2 separate regions of the Homo sapiens genome follow, and region 2 is linked to region 1. The links are contacts of gene promoters, found by promoter capture Hi-C in blood cells and fetal thymus (Javierre and others, 2016). All regions are on one chromosome and are shown on one strand. The core of a region is centred on a gene start or on the middle of the fragment in contact, and the rest is flanking DNA. Distances in the headings are between cores, read along the strand shown. Region 1 holds the start of GRSF1 (G-rich RNA sequence binding factor 1). Region 2 holds the start of UBA6 (ubiquitin like modifier activating enzyme 6).

Region 1 (7,456 bases), core at 3,662-6,161:
GCACAGACCTGTAATCCTATAATCCCAGGCACTCAGAGCAAAGGCAGAAGGATCGCTTGAGCCCAGTAGTTTGAGGCAGTAATGTCCTGTGATTGTGCTTGTGAATAACCACTGCACTCCAGCCCGGAAAATAGCATCAGACCCCTGTCTCTTCTTTTTGTTTGTTTTTTCTTTTTGTTTTCTGCTTGTTTCTTTCTTTGTTTGTTTGAGACAAATGATTCCTATGCCTCAGCCTCCCGAGTAGCTGGGATTATAGGGGCGCACCACCACACTTGGCTAATTTTTGTATTTTTAGTAGACGGGGTTTTGCTATGTTGGCCAGGCTGATCTCAAGCAATCCACCTGCCTCTCAAAGTGCTGGGGTTACAGGCATGCGCCACCGCACCCAGCCAAGACAAAACTGCAGCTCTTGCCAATGACTTGTCAGCCACTGCAAACCACAAAAGGTCATGCACTGTCTCACAGCATAAACTAATCCTAAATTCAAAAGCCAAAAAAAAAAAAAGGAGTCCACCCGAGCGGAACTTACCTATAACCCTTGAGGCTCCATGAGGAAGACCGAGGACCTCAAAAGGCATCTGTGGCTCTGTGGCACCTCTCTGATATTCCTCCGGGAGTCTCAGAAGTCATCAGCAGTGTCCTTTAGGTCCCTTTGTCAGTTGCCAGAACTGTCAAAAGACAAAATTACAATGAATTTAGTTTACAAATCTTTTTTTTTTTTTTTTTTGAGACAGAGTCTCTCTCCGTCGCCCAGGCTAGCATGCAGTGGCGCGATCTCAGCTCACTGCAACCTCCACCTCCCAGGTTCAAGCGATTCTCTTGCCTCAGCCTCCCAAGTAGCTGGGATTACAGGTGTACACCACCATGCCCAGCTAATTTTTGTATTTTAGTAGAGATGGGGTTTCACCATATTGGCCAGGCTGGTCTTGAACTCCTGACCTCAAGTGATCTGCCCGCCTCGGCCTTCCAAAGTGTTGGGATTATAGGCGTGAGCCACCGCACACGCCTTTTAGAAATTTTTTTTTTTTTGTTTTTTGAGACAGAGTTTCGCTCTTGTTGCCCAGGCTGGAGTGCAATGGCACGATCTCGGCTCACTGCAACCTCTGCCTCCCGGGTTCAAGCAATTCTCCTGCCTCAGCCTCCTGAGTAGCTGGGATTACAGGCATGCGCACCATGCTCAGCTAATTTTGTATTTTTAGTAGAGAGGGGGTTCTCCATGTTGGTCAGGCTGGTCTCGAACTCCCGACTTCAGGTGATCCGCCCACCTCGGCTTCCCAAAGTGCTGGGATTACAGGCTTGAGCCACTGCGCCCGGCCTCAGCTTTTATAAATCTTAATTGGCTTTTATTTTCTATTCTAGAATCGGGCAACATCTCATTCTATAGAGTGAGTGTTTTGATGAGCTGAGCAAAGGAGGTTGGGTTTGTAGATAGAAAAGGGCCAAGGAAAGTAGAAACAGAGAATACAAAGCAGATTGGTTGTTTCAGGTATTTTCCCTATAAAGGTCAAAGCAAAGGGGCCTTCCTTATCCTGCCAGCTAACACCAGTCTGTTTGAGGATTTGGCCATTATCTGTCTCTCCTGATTACTCAGAAGGTCAAATAAACTTAGTTTCAGCTTGGTCTTGTGGAAGGTGAGTAACTGCATTTTGGTTTGGTCTTTTGGGCATAGTAGAAGAGCTCAGTCCAAACCAATGGCCTCTTATAATTTAATTTTATTTATTTATTTACTTTTGAGACAGGGTCTCACTCTGTCATGAGGATGGCAGGTGCTACTTTGGAGTGCTGGAGTGCAGTGGTGCGGTCTCAGCTCACTGAAGCCTCAACCTTGTGGGCTCCGGTTTTAGGGTCAGTTTGTGCTGTGAGAGAGCGTGTGACCTTTTGGGACTACAGGCAGGTGTCACCACGCCCAGCTAATTTTTTGTATTTTTAGTAGATACGGGATGTCGCCAGGTTGCCCAGGCTGCCTCTTATTATTTATACTCCTGATTATAAAGTACAGGATTTCTGTCTATTTAGGTTTCCAATCCATTCAGATTTTTATGTTATAGATGATGACTGCTGCTATTAAGAAAATGAGGGCAAGAGTAAATATAGGCAGAGTCTCCAATACATCAGCAACCTGTTATTTGTAGTGATGATCTGTTAGGAAGGGCTAACCCATTTTCCTTCTTGAAAGGGAGGCTTACGAAAAGAAAAATAGGTCAGGTGTGGTGGTTCATGCTTGTAATCCCAAGCACTTTGGGAGGCTGAGGCAGGAGGATTACTTGAACCCGGGAGGTCAAGGCTAGTGTGAGTCATATTCCCACCACTGCACCCCAGCTCGGGCAAAAGAGCAAAACCCTGTCTCTATATAAATAAGTAACTCTAGGATTCCCAAATCTTGCAGATGAAGAAACCCCCTTCTCTTTTTTGGCTGGGGTGGGGAAGACTAGCCTGTTCTTTGTTTTCCTTGGGAAGTTACAGGATTACTGATGAACAAAATTACTGTTCAGGGAAGAGACATCCAGTGGCTTCTATGTCCAGGCCCATTCCCAGGAACCACATTTCCAGAGGGGCCTCAACCCCTGAGGCCTCAACTGGCCCCTTTCCAGGTATCCAAGAACAAATCACGAACAAGCAGTGGGAAACAAAAACCAGCCTGACCTCAGCACCTGCTCTCACCCCAAAGGGAGGTGAGGGCTGCTGGCATTGGTGGGTCCTGGGCCTAGCCTCTAGCCAGAGGATGTGGGGACCTCTCTTGGGGGCCTGCCCTTCCCACACCCCCTCTCCCAGCCAGGCTGTCTTGGACATTTCTGGGACTCCTCTGAGGGATCATGGTTCTTGCTCTGGGGTTTTCTTTTGTCATTTTAACACTGAGGCATCCCAGCCTCCCTTCCTGGAAGATGGAGTATTTGCACTGTTGCCTTTTCTTTTGTCCCTGTTTTTGTATAAAAATGACAATACTCTCCGTCGGACTGTATTTTAGCCCAAAAAACAAAACTAAACCCCTTTTTCTTTGATACTCCAGGTTCATAGAGCCAAGCCTATCAATTTTTTTCTTGTTCTTTGTTTTTTGGTTGGGGAAAGGGTTTTCTAAGAAATACTGAATTTTCCTTACCTAAAAGTAGTCCAGGTTAAACAAGTCAAACTTTAAATGTAATACCCATTGCTTTAAAATATTCTAGCAAAGAAAATAAGGTCTGGAAGATGGTGGTAGGGGATAGATGAAACAAGACTGAAAAGTGTTGACAATTTATGAAGTTCTGGAAATTCATTCTGCTCTTCTGTTTGACATTTTCCACAGTAAGGAGTTTTTAAAAATACTAGCTTTCTCTTATTTTTTACTCTAACAACTTCCTTTTGCTTGTCTTTGACAAGTCCTGGCTCAGGAGGAGAAAAGCTGCACAACCAGTCTTTGTGTATGTGTGTGCAAATCTCTGTGTGTTCACTTGTGAATACAGTTTCATTAGGGGAGGGTTCACCTTTGTTATGTATTATCAGTACATAATAAATATATATGTTTTCTTTTATTTTTTTAGAGACAGGGTTTCACTCTGTCACCCAGGCTGGAGTTCAGTGGTGGCAATCATAGCTTACCACAGCCTCTACCTTCTGGGCTGAAGCAATCGGCCTCCCAAGTAGCTGGGACTACAGGCCCACGCCATCACACCCAGCTTTATTTATTTTTTGTATAGACGGGGTCTCCCTATGTTGCCCAGGCTGGTCTGGAACTCTTGGGCTCCAGTGATCCTCTCACTTCAGCCTCCCAAAGCGCTGGGATTATAGGCATGAGCCACCACGCCAGGCCTATATTTCATTTTAAAACAACGAAGTTCTCCTTCCTCACATACCTCAAATTCGGGGGGTACCAAATCTCTGATATTATCCCAACGATTTTTTTATAACCAAGGTATCACAATTCCTTTCAGAAAGGGTTCTTTAGCCACTCACACCACGGGTTTCGGTGGCACAGCGCAGGGCAGCACAGACTTGTGCTACAGCTCTCGGCCCTACCCAGAGCAGGATGGCCCTAACCTAATTTTTTTGTTTGTTTGTTTGGAGATGGCGTCTCACTCTGTCGCCCAGGCTGCAGTGCGGTGGCACGATCTTGGCTCACTGCAACCTCCGCCTCCTGGGTTCAAGCGATTCTCCTGCCTCAGCCTCCTGAGTAGCTGGGATTACGGGCACCCGTCACCACACCCGGCTAATTTTTGTGTTTTTAGTAGAGACACAGTTTCACCATGTTGGCCAGGCTGGTCTTGAACTGCTGACCTCAGGTGATCCGCCCTACCTCGGCCTACTAAAGTGCTGGGATTACAGGCGGGAGCCACCGCGTCCGACCTAATTTTTTGTATTTTAGTAGAGACGGGATTTCACCGTGTTGCCTAGGTTGGTCTCGAACTCCTGACCTCAGGCAGTCCACCCGCCTCTGCCTGCCAAAGTGCTAGGATTACAAGAATGAGTCACTACGAATGAGTCACTGCGCCAGGCCCCTAGCCTCACTTACTTTGGGCCTCAGTTTCCACCGCCTGAAAAAAGAGCAGTTCGATTGCACCCACTTCCCCGGGCCCCGCCCAAACCATGGGCAGCCCCGCCCAAACCATGGGCAGCCCCGCCCAAACCATGGGCAGCCCCGCCCAAACCATGGGCAGCCCCGCCCAAACCATGGGCAGCCCCGCCCAAACCATGGGCAGCCCCGCCCAAACCATGGGCAGCCCCGCCCAAACCATGGGCAGCCCCGCCCAAACCATGGGCAGCCCCGCCCAAACCATGGGCAGCCCCGCCCAAACCATGGGCAGCCCCGCCCAAGGGCGGAGACTGGGCGGAGCGTCGCGCTCTCCTCCACCTCCTTCCGACTCTCGGAGGCCCCCCACCCAGTGCCCGCGGCGCATGTGCCAGGCACACCCCACCCCCAACCGGCCCTGGATTCCACTTCCGTTCCACCATCGCTGCTGGAGCAGCTGCCTTCAGGCCCTGCGCCGCCTCCGGAGTCCATGGCCGGCACGCGCTGGGTACTCGGGGCGCTGCTCCGGGGCTGCGGCTGTAACTGCAGCAGCTGCCGGCGCACCGGCGCCGCCTGCCTGCCCTTCTACTCCGCCGCTGGCTCTATCCCGTCGGGCGTCTCGGGCCGCCGCCGCCTGCTGCTGCTGCTCGGGGCCGCCGCGGCCGCTGCCTCCCAGACGCGTGGCCTCCAGACCGGGCCTGTGCCTCCCGGGAGGCTGGCGGGGCCTCCCGCTGTGGCCACCTCTGCCGCGGCCGCGGCCGCCGCGTCCTACTCTGCCCTCCGTGCCTCTCTGCTGCCGCAGTCGCTGGCGGCGGCGGCCGCCGTCCCGACGCGCAGCTACAGCCAGGTACGTGGGCGCCGTGAGGGACCTGGCGCGAGATCCCTCCCGGGCCGCGTGCACGCGCCCCCGCGCCCCTCCGTCCCTCCGTGTGCGCCTCGCGGGCACGCCCGGGGATCCGCGACACTCGCCGCACACCCGCCCCCGTCCACCCTGTGCTCCTATTGGGCCCTGGAACAAGGGAAGCTCTCCCAGGCGTCGGGTCTTCTGCTTGTTTTGTTCTCGCCTCGAGTCTCTGGTCGGTTGGGCAGTGTAAGTGTGGCTGGGGTGAATGTTGAGGCCTTGTTCCCCGCCTGGCCCATGGTAGGTTTCGTGAGGCTGCTGACGCCCCCACCTCGCATCTTCTTGCTTTCCGCCGGCTGGTTGTGAAGTTGCGAGGCCCGAGCCCGCCGGAGGGTTGGGAGTTTCCGTGCAGCCCGAGCGCTAGGCCTGGGCGGCCCTCGGCGCCTCTCGGTCGGCCGCTGCTGGGAAGGTGCGCGCACACAGTTGCGTGGGCTGGCTTGTAGGGAAGGAGCCTGTCCCCATCGCGCCGTTCCCTCTCCTGTCCCCAGGGAAAGACGAGCTGTCCCGGTTTACTGAAGGTCACCTCTGCAACTCCACTCATACAGAAGGTCTTTAAGGACTGTGTGTCGCCTCGTCTGGGAAAGCAGTTTGGAGATTTAGCTGTTGGGGGGAGGGGGTGAATGGGAGGGAGCGTTGAGGGTTGAGGACACAACTTGGGGTCCCAGGAATGAATTTGCAATGTTTTCCTTTCCATTTTTTCTTTATTTTTTTAGAAAAGTCGGTGTGTAGTTAGATTGCAAATATTTTGTGCTTTGTAGATGAACCTTTCTCTTCTTGGTACGTGGCATCTGGGAAGTGTCTGCACACTTTTTAACTACCCAGCCCCTGATTCCTTAGGTCATATTTATCTTAATTCAATTTGTGCTTCTCCTTTAACTTAGGGAGACTGGGAGGCTAATCAGCATGGCTGCTGTCTGCCAGTGGCTGAGCTAATTGATTTGAATCCTGGCCCAATACTTTACGCTGCCTTTTTCTGTAAAAGCTTGTGATGCTTATGGAATTATGGAAAAATGGGGAAAGTTGTCTACAAAAACCACAACAAAACCATCTCCAGTAAACCTTTGTGAGCTAGCTTCTCTCTTTTTTTTTCTATGAAATTGACTGCGGTGATATCTGTAGAGCATCTACTATGTGTTAGACACTGCTTACATTTATTCCTTAAAACTAAACATTAAGCCTTTTTTTTTTTTTTTTTTTGGAGACCGAGTCTCGCTCTGTCGCCCAGGCTGGAGTGCAGTGGAATGATCTCGGCTCACTGCAAGCTCCGCCTTCCGGGTTCACGCCATTCTCCTGCTTCAGCCTCCCGAGTAGCTGGGACTACAGGCGCCCGCCACTGCGCCCAGCTAATTTTTTGTATTTTTAGTAGAGACGGGGTTTCACCGTGGTCTCGATCTCCTGACCTCGTGATCCGCCCGCCTCTGCCTCCCAAAGTGCTGGGATTACAGGCGTGAGCCACCGCGCCCGGCCTAACATTAAGCCTTAATGAAAATTATAGATAGGGCTGGGCGCGGCACTTTGGGAGGCTGCGGCGGGTGGATCACCTGAGGTCAGGAGTTCGATAGCAGGCTAACCAACATGGTGAAACTCCGTGTCTACTAAAAAAATGCAAAAAAATTAGCCGGGCGGGGTGGCGGGCGCCTGTAATCCCAGCTACCCGGGAGGCTGAGGCAGGAGAATCCTTTGAACCCGGGGAGGTTGCAGTGAGCCGAGATTGTGCCATTATACTCTAGTCTGGGCGACAAGAGCGAAACTCCGTCTCAAGAAAAAAGAAAAGAAAAGAAAATGACAGATAGTAGAAAGATATCTCTGTCCTTAGTCCGGTAGAGTGCAAGTCTTTTTTTTTTTTTTTTTTTGAGACGGAGTCTTGCTCTGTTGCCCATGCTGGAGTGAAATGCCGAGATCTCAGCTCACTGAAACCTCTACCTCCCGGGTTCAGGCGATTATCCTGCCTCAGCCTCCCGAGTAGCTGGGATTACGGGCACACGCCACCACACCCGGCTCATTTTTTGTATTTTTAGTAGAGATGGGGTTTTGCCATGTTGGCCAGGCTGGTCTTGAACTCCTGACCTCGT
Region 2 (7,456 bases), core at 3,348-5,847, 3.1 Mb after region 1:
ACTCCATAGCAAAAACCCCCAAATAATCCAATTTTAAAATGGGCAAATGATCTAAACAGGCATTTATCAAAAGAAGACATATAAATGGCCAACAGACATATGAAAAAATGCTCAACATCACCAGTCACCAGGGAAATGCAAATCAAAACCACAATAAGACATCATCTCACCTCAGTTAAGATTACTATTACCAAAAAGGCAGAAAATAACAGATGCTGGTGAGGATGTGGCAAAAGGAGAACACTAGTGCATTGCTGGTGGGAACGTAAATTAGTACAGAAACTATGAAAAACAGTATGGAAGTTTCTCAAAAATCTAAAAATAGATCTACCACATGATCCAACAATCCCATTCCTGAGTATACATCCAAAAACGGAATTCAATAAATTTAAAAGGTATCTGCATGCCCATGTTTATTACAGTACTATTCACAATAGCCAAGATATGGAATCAATCTAAGTGTCCATCAACAGATGAATGGATTTTAAAAATGTGTCATCTACACAAAAACATGAAATCATGTAGTTTGAAGCACCATAGATGGAACTGGAGGTCATTATGTTAAGTGAAATGCCAGGCATAGAAAGACAAATAGCACATATTCTCACTCATAAGTGAGAGCTAAAAAAGTGGATCTCATGGCAGTAGAGAGTAGAATGATGGTTACCAGAGGCTGGGAAGGTTGGGGGTAAGGAGGATGAAAAAGGTTGCGTAATGGGTACAAAAATACAATTAGATAGAGGAAACAATTTCTAGTGTTCGATAGCACTAGAGGGTGACTATAGTTAACAATAATTTATCATATATTTCAAAATAGCTAGAAGGCAAGATGTGAAATGTTCCTAACACAAAGAAATAAACAATGTTTGAGGTGATGGATATCACAATTACCTTGGTTTTATCATTATACCTTGTACGCAAATATCAAAATACCCCATAAATATATGCTTATTATGTATGTATTAATTTAAAAAGGAAATAAAACCATAATATTGCTGAACATTACACAAAAGCAACAGAAAAGGGAATTCTCTGAAATTAGAAAAGTTTTCCCAAAACCTGTGAGAAAGCAAATAAGCATAGAATAAGAAAGTAAAAATCTGCTTTGCCATTCATCAGCTATGGGATAACAGGCATAAATAAAGCCAGCTGTGAAATTAACAGAAAATACTATTTCTCTCTGGAAGATGCTTTAAAATGTCTCAAACACACACACACACACACACACACACACACACACACACACACCCTTAGAGTAACTGATTTTTTACTCACACAATGCCCTTTTCTCTAAAATCATAGAACATTTATGACAATATCAAAAGATTGTCAAAAACTCTGCTGTTTAAATCCTATTATTAAGATTGAAATATCTCACTCTTGGCTAGAATATCTAAAGTCACATTGACACAGAGAAATAGTTTCTACTTCTGAGAGGCAGAACTTTGCAATTTCCAAAAAACAGAACCCTGGGTCCATCTTGTATTACGTTGGTGCAAAAGTAATTGCAGTTTTTGCCATTAGTAATAGTTTAGATGTAGTGTAGAATTCTTTACAAACAGCCTTGCTTTCTTTTGAGTCTATCAAAGCACTACTTCATTTCAATTCCTTCTAAACTCCATACTTCCCCAAATTCCTACAATAAATCTATCTCTTCCTCTGTTGGTGAGGTACCCCATGGTTCTTCTGGAATGTGGGCTCCCTCCTTGCAATGAGCCAGTAAACCTGATGATATGGTCTGCTCTGTGTCCCCACCCAAATCTCACTTCAAATTTTAATTCCCATGTGTGCAAGGAGAGACCTGGTGGGAGGTGATTAGATTATGGGGGCAGTTCCCCCATGCTATTCTTGTGATAATGAGGGAGTTCTCATGAGATCTGATGGTTTTAAAAGTGGCAGTTTTCCCACGATCTCACTTCTCTCCTGCCACCGTGTAAGATATGTCTTGCTTCTCCTTCACCTTCTGCTATGATTTAAGTTTCCTGAGGACTCCCCAGCCATGTGGAACTGTGAGTCAACTAAATCTCTTTCCTTTATAAATTACCCAGTCTCGGGTATTTCTTTATAGCAGTGTGAAAACAGACTAATATACCTGACTTTCTTGGAATACAGTTTTGTTCCTGATAAACTTAGGCTTATTGGGCTAAGAAGCCTGTCTCATATTAGTTCAGGAACACCAATTTCACATAAAAATGAGCAATAACTCACGCCTGTAATCCCAGCACTTTGGGAGGCCAAGGGGTGGATCACGAGGTCAGGAGATCGAGACCATCCTGGCTAACACGGTGAAACCCCGTCTCTACTAAAAATACAAAAAATTAGCCGGGCGTGGTGGCAGGTGCCTGTAGTTCCAGCTACTCGGGAGGCTGAGGCAGGAGAATGGCGTGAATCCGGGAGGCAGAACTTGCAGTGAGCCAAGATCCCGCCACTGCACTCCAACCTGGGCAACAGAGCAAGGCTCTGTCTCAAAAAAAAAAAAAAAAAAAAAAAAAAAAGAGCAACAAAAAAAGCATCAAGTTCAAATCCATGCAGTTATTATGTGAAGAGAATAAGGAATATAACATCATCATCAAAGATAATAAAAACATGCCTGAAAGATGCACTACAAAACAATTTATTATTTTGAAACTAGCTAAATGACATTAGAGAAATGATAAAAGATATGGAAGAACTTGATTCTGAATTAGAAAAACCTCAGAAATGAGGTGACAGAACTCAGGAGAATTAGTAATAAAGAATAAACTACAAGAAACACAAAAGCTAATAAATGCAACAGATTATGATTTGCTGTAAAGAAACCGAGTCAATCCTTAGATCAATGTTTCTGTAATAATTCTGATTGTCAGACACTTTCTCCAATTAATTATTAAGGAGGGGCTCATGAAAACACTAGTCTCACCAAATTGATATATCAATTGTTGATAACAGTTTGTACCTTTTGTATATTAGTTTTGCTGAATGTAAAATCTTTGGCCTACATATTTTTCCCTTAAGTTTCCTCAATATGTCATTCTACTTTCTTATGACATAAAGCCTCACTGTCAAAAAGCTGTGATCGCCTAGTTTTCTTTCCCATTTTACATATGTGACAAAACATTAAAATCTGTTAAATCTGGTTGCTTGTTACATGCCTGAAATAATTCACACCATATTTTATCAAATCTAACATGCCCTCAATTTTAAGATGCATCGTTTTCTGTATTTATTTTTTAAAAATTCATCCTCTATTCATGGATGTTAAAATATGAAGAAGCGTGGGTAATGGCAGGCCATTGTTTTGGCCTAGCCTTCTACACTAGGCCCCATCAGATCAAACCAGAATGGAGTTGCTTGTGCTAAGCACCATGTAATTAAAGTGGATTTTGAAAAAATGAGCCAGTTTTTTTTAAAAAAACAGGAGATTCTAGTTAACCTAGTGGGCATAATAAGGAAGTATGCTCTGTTTTAACCTTTACAAGGAAAGAAACTTTGAAATAATCTGATTTTTGTTCTGTTTCTGCTTTCTTCAATCTTTTTCATTATCTTCAGTCCTGTAGCATTATCTTAGTGCTAGAGCAGAGCCTTGAAAGAATAGAACACAGATCAAGAACATTTTAATGTGGAAAAGGTTCACAACTGGATTGAGGAACACGGATAATGCTATAGGTGAGCAACATAAAGCTTCCAGGTATTTTAAGATGTGCAATTTTGAAGAGAATAGAGGGCACGAAGGATAATACAGTTTTGCCTGGACCCTCATCTCCATATGAGAGGAAAAATTTCTAATTAAAAATATGATACATCACAGAAAATTACATAATACCCAAAGTATATGCTAATTTTAAAAATCCTGCAGATGTTTATTCAAATATACAGTGTTATTTAGTGAAAGACAAATCCTAATGTTATTGTGTCCAACTCATTTTTGCTTTCTAAGAAAGGTGACACGGAAGTAAATGAAAAAGAATTATATGAGAACTTTTTAGATATGTGTTCTGGTAATCTAACAGTGACTAGCTCTATAACCTTGACCAAGTCACTTGCACTGACCGGAAGTTCCTTTCCCTTACCCACAAATTTAAGGGACCAAACTGGATGATCTAACGACATCTATGGCACTAAAAGTCACATGATTCTATTAAATCTGAGGCAGCGCCTCACATGTAGTGGACTCCCAAAATTATTTATTAAATGTATAACATCTTTAAGTGGTATCCCCTCACTGACAATCTGGAGCTATTAGCAGCCTTCAGTTTATTTATAAAATAAAGCTGTTTCCTCTTCTTACCGTTAAGACTCTTTTAAGGATTTGCAACGCTATCCCATCATTTCGCGGGTTACTAGAGTCCTGCATGTTTGGCTGTAGAGCAAGGGTGACGCGTAACTTCTGGACTTTGGTTCCATCTACATCTGCCGGATGCGGATGCCAGTCGCAACAGTAACGCCCCCTTCGGCCACCTGCACCACAGCACGCCATGCGGCCACACCCAAACCGGAAACCAGGACGCCCCTAGGGTTGACGGGAAGGCGCTGCCGGGCTCCTAGCTTCCCCAGGCCCGCCCCCTCTGATGACGTCTCCGCCCGCCCCTTGACCCCCCCACGGTCCCGCCCCTTCCTACCTTCCAGTAGCCGGCGGCGGTGTCTCAGGCGGCAATGGAAGGATCCGAGCCTGTGGCCGCCCATCAGGGGGAAGAGGCGTCCTGTTCTTCCTGGGGGACTGGCAGGTGAGAGGACGAGAAGGGCGAAGGTGAGGGGTCGCGGGTGGGACCCAGGCTCCGGGTTTCTGCTTCTTTCTTTCCGGCGGGCTGGGGGCGCCCGAGAGGCCGCGGGGCCGAGCAGAGCCGGCCCTGGGAGGCGAGGGGCGCGCGCGGAGTGGGTGTGGCGACGTGGGCTAGGGCCTCTGCTGTTGCCGGCTTTCCTGAGGGAAAAGTCCCCTTTCCGCACCTTTGAGGGCTTTCTCAGTTCTGGCTGGGATTCGGGATCCTCCTTCCTCCAAGTCACCAGACTTGGGGGGCTCCGGTCGAGAGCGAGTTCTGGTCTCGGTCACTTGGCGTGAGCTTCCCCGACTGGTGCCAAGCACCTTTCCTCCTTTCCGTAAAAAGAAAGCTAGGAGCGCCACTGTGCACCTCCACTGAGATCCTCTTTTGAAAACTATTACCAGAAGGAACTTGGTAAGAATGAATCAGTAGCAATCTGGACACCCTGAGGCCTTTGTTGACTTCGGAAGAAGGAAAAAAAAAAAGCCAGGAAAAAAAAATACACAAGTTACCCATTCTTATTTCCCACTTGGTTTTGAAGTTCTTCAGGTCTTTCCCGCCCCTGTAAAATTAGGGGGAAAATATTTGTGCTAGGCCTTTACCAATTTCTTGGTTAGTAGTTCCTCTTTCAATCATCTCATAATTAATAAAGCAAGTGGTTACATTCTATCCACCACTGTCAGAATACACCATGCCAAAGATAGAATTGATGGATGTATTATTTTCAGCTGATGTGAGACTTTGTAAACCTGTAGCCTTTTCGCCAGTTTCAGACTGAAGGGATGCTTTCAGTTTCATGGTGTTGTCTGCCATTGCCAACACTGCCAGAGTGGAGGGATATTATGTAATATAACCCGCGCCTTATTTGAAGCGTTTTTGATTGTCTTATAGATCATATTATTTTTACATATTTTTGAAACATTCCAGTGAGGCACAACTTTCTGAAAAGGGCCAGTCACGCCATTAAGTGGCAGAGCTAGTTAGACTGCAGCTGTTCTCGTTTTTATTCAGATTTACCCACCAGGCCTATTGCCCCCGCCATGCAAGGAAAACAGCAAGTGAAAGTGTACTAGGGATAAAATGATAGGAAAGTAGATAATAAAAAACTTTGGCCGGGCGCAGTGGCTCAAACGCTTGCAATCCCAGCGCTTTGGGAGGTCGAAGCAGGCGGGTCGCTTGAGCTCAGGAGTTCTTAGACTAGCCTGGGCAACATGGCGAAACCGCGTCTCTACAAAATACAAAAAAATTAGCTGGGCGTAGGTGATGCACGCCTGTAGTCCCAGCTACTCGGGAGGCTAAGATGAGAGGATCGCTTGAGTCTAGAGAGATCGAGGCTGCAGTGAGCCGAGATCGTGCCACTGCACTCCAGTCTGGGTGACAGAGAGAGACCCTGTCTCAAAAAAAAAGAAAAGAAACAAATTTTGTTAATTTTTATATTTTGTTACAATGCCCAAACAGGGTATATTGTGTATGTGTGTGTTTTTTATTAGGTAGGTGATCTCTTAGAACACAGCTATCTTCTGATTTGCCTTGGTAATTGGAATCAGTTTTTTTAATAGCTATCCGTTTAATTAGCTAGAAGCTGGTATCATTTGATATGTGCCAGTGTTTGGTGAGATAAATGATAACATTTTAATTACCTTTGTTTACAAATTCTTTGGCTTATTTATCAATGCTAGGACTAGAAAGTTGGATTCCAAGCCTGAATTTGATGCCATCGCATTGTTTTTAGAATCTTTTAATTGACAACTAGAGCTTCTCAGAACTAGGAATGGCCTCCACTTCTGCCAGTATATTGATCTCAGCTCTCACAGTGGTTCAGCTCCAAATGCTCCAGACTGGTTCCCTGTACCTGGGAATTATCTCTGCTTGCCAGTGTTTAGTACAGATACGTTTTTTGAAGGCCATGCTGTGAAAATGGGACGAGCACTGCTATAAATAATATGTTACTATAATAAGTATACTTTGTCAGATTTGCATATTTAGATTAGTTTTTTTCCTTTAAAATTTATTCATTTAACAGGGTTTTTTTGTTTTGTTTTGTTTGTTTGTTTTTTGACAGAGTCTTGCTCTTGTCACCCAGGCTGGAGTACAGTGGTGGGATCTTGGCTCACTGCAGCCTCCTCCTCCCGGGTTCAAGCGATTCTCCCACCTCAGCCTCCCAAGTAGCTGGGAATACAGGCGCCTGCTACTACATCTGGCTAATTTTTGTATTTTTAGTAGAGACAGGGTTTCACCACGTTGGTCAGGCTGGTCTCGAACTCCTGACTTCAGGTGGTCCGCCTGCCTTGGCCTCCCAAAGTGCTGGGATTACAAGCATGAGCCACCGCGCCCATCCCATTTAACAGGTTTTTTTAAGTGTTTCCTTTATGTCTAATATCAGAAACAGTAGGCAGTATGTGTGGTAGTCAAGAGCTAGACTGCCTGGGTTCAGATCCTGGCAGTGCCATTTGCCTGCTCTGTGACTTTGGGCAAATTTTAAGTTAACCTCCCTCAGCCTCTTTTTTCCATCTGTTCGTTGGAGATAGCAATAGTGCTTGCCCACTGTTTGGACAAGGTTGTTGTAAGGGTTAACTGAATAAGTACATCTAAAGCACTTAAATATGTAGCACAGGGTTATCTATTATTATTAAATGCCTGGTACTGTTTTAGGTATTTGGAATACAGTAGTGAGTTTTTAACAGACCATACATTTTTTTGGTAGTAGTGGCAGACAGTTA

The links. The method cuts DNA at HindIII sites, captures the fragments that hold promoters and counts their contacts. A CHiCAGO score of 5 or more calls a contact.
Region 2: the fragment with the promoter of UBA6 here is called in contact with the fragment with the promoter of GRSF1 in region 1 in 1 of 17 cell types (total CD8 T cells); the score reaches 8.6 in total CD8 T cells.

What each region holds. Positions count from the first base shown.
Region 1 is chr4:70,837,345-70,844,800 of GRCh38, reverse strand. GRSF1 (G-rich RNA sequence binding factor 1) reads left to right here and starts at 4,911. Exons shown (of 10, transcript NM_002092.4): 1 at 4,911-5,330. The coding sequence starts at 4,974. It overlaps LOC124900710 (a long non-coding RNA gene), which reads right to left and starts at 5,809. Exons shown (of 3, transcript XR_007058131.1): 1 at 5,656-5,809; 2 at 530-668. RefSeq lists silencers at 4,644-4,893, 4,954-5,503 and enhancers at 4,900-5,553, 5,554-6,208. The HindIII fragment of the contact is 9,073 bases long and covers 1-6,368 here.
Region 2 is chr4:67,698,296-67,705,751 of GRCh38, reverse strand. It overlaps UBA6 (ubiquitin like modifier activating enzyme 6), which reads left to right and starts at 4,597. Exons shown (of 33, transcript NM_018227.6): 1 at 4,597-4,703. The coding sequence starts at 4,633. UBA6-DT (UBA6 divergent transcript) reads right to left here and starts at 4,474. Exons shown (of 2, transcript NR_015439.1): 1 at 4,268-4,474. RefSeq lists silencers at 4,504-4,573, 4,704-4,873. The HindIII fragment of the contact is 4,018 bases long and covers 3,663-7,456 here.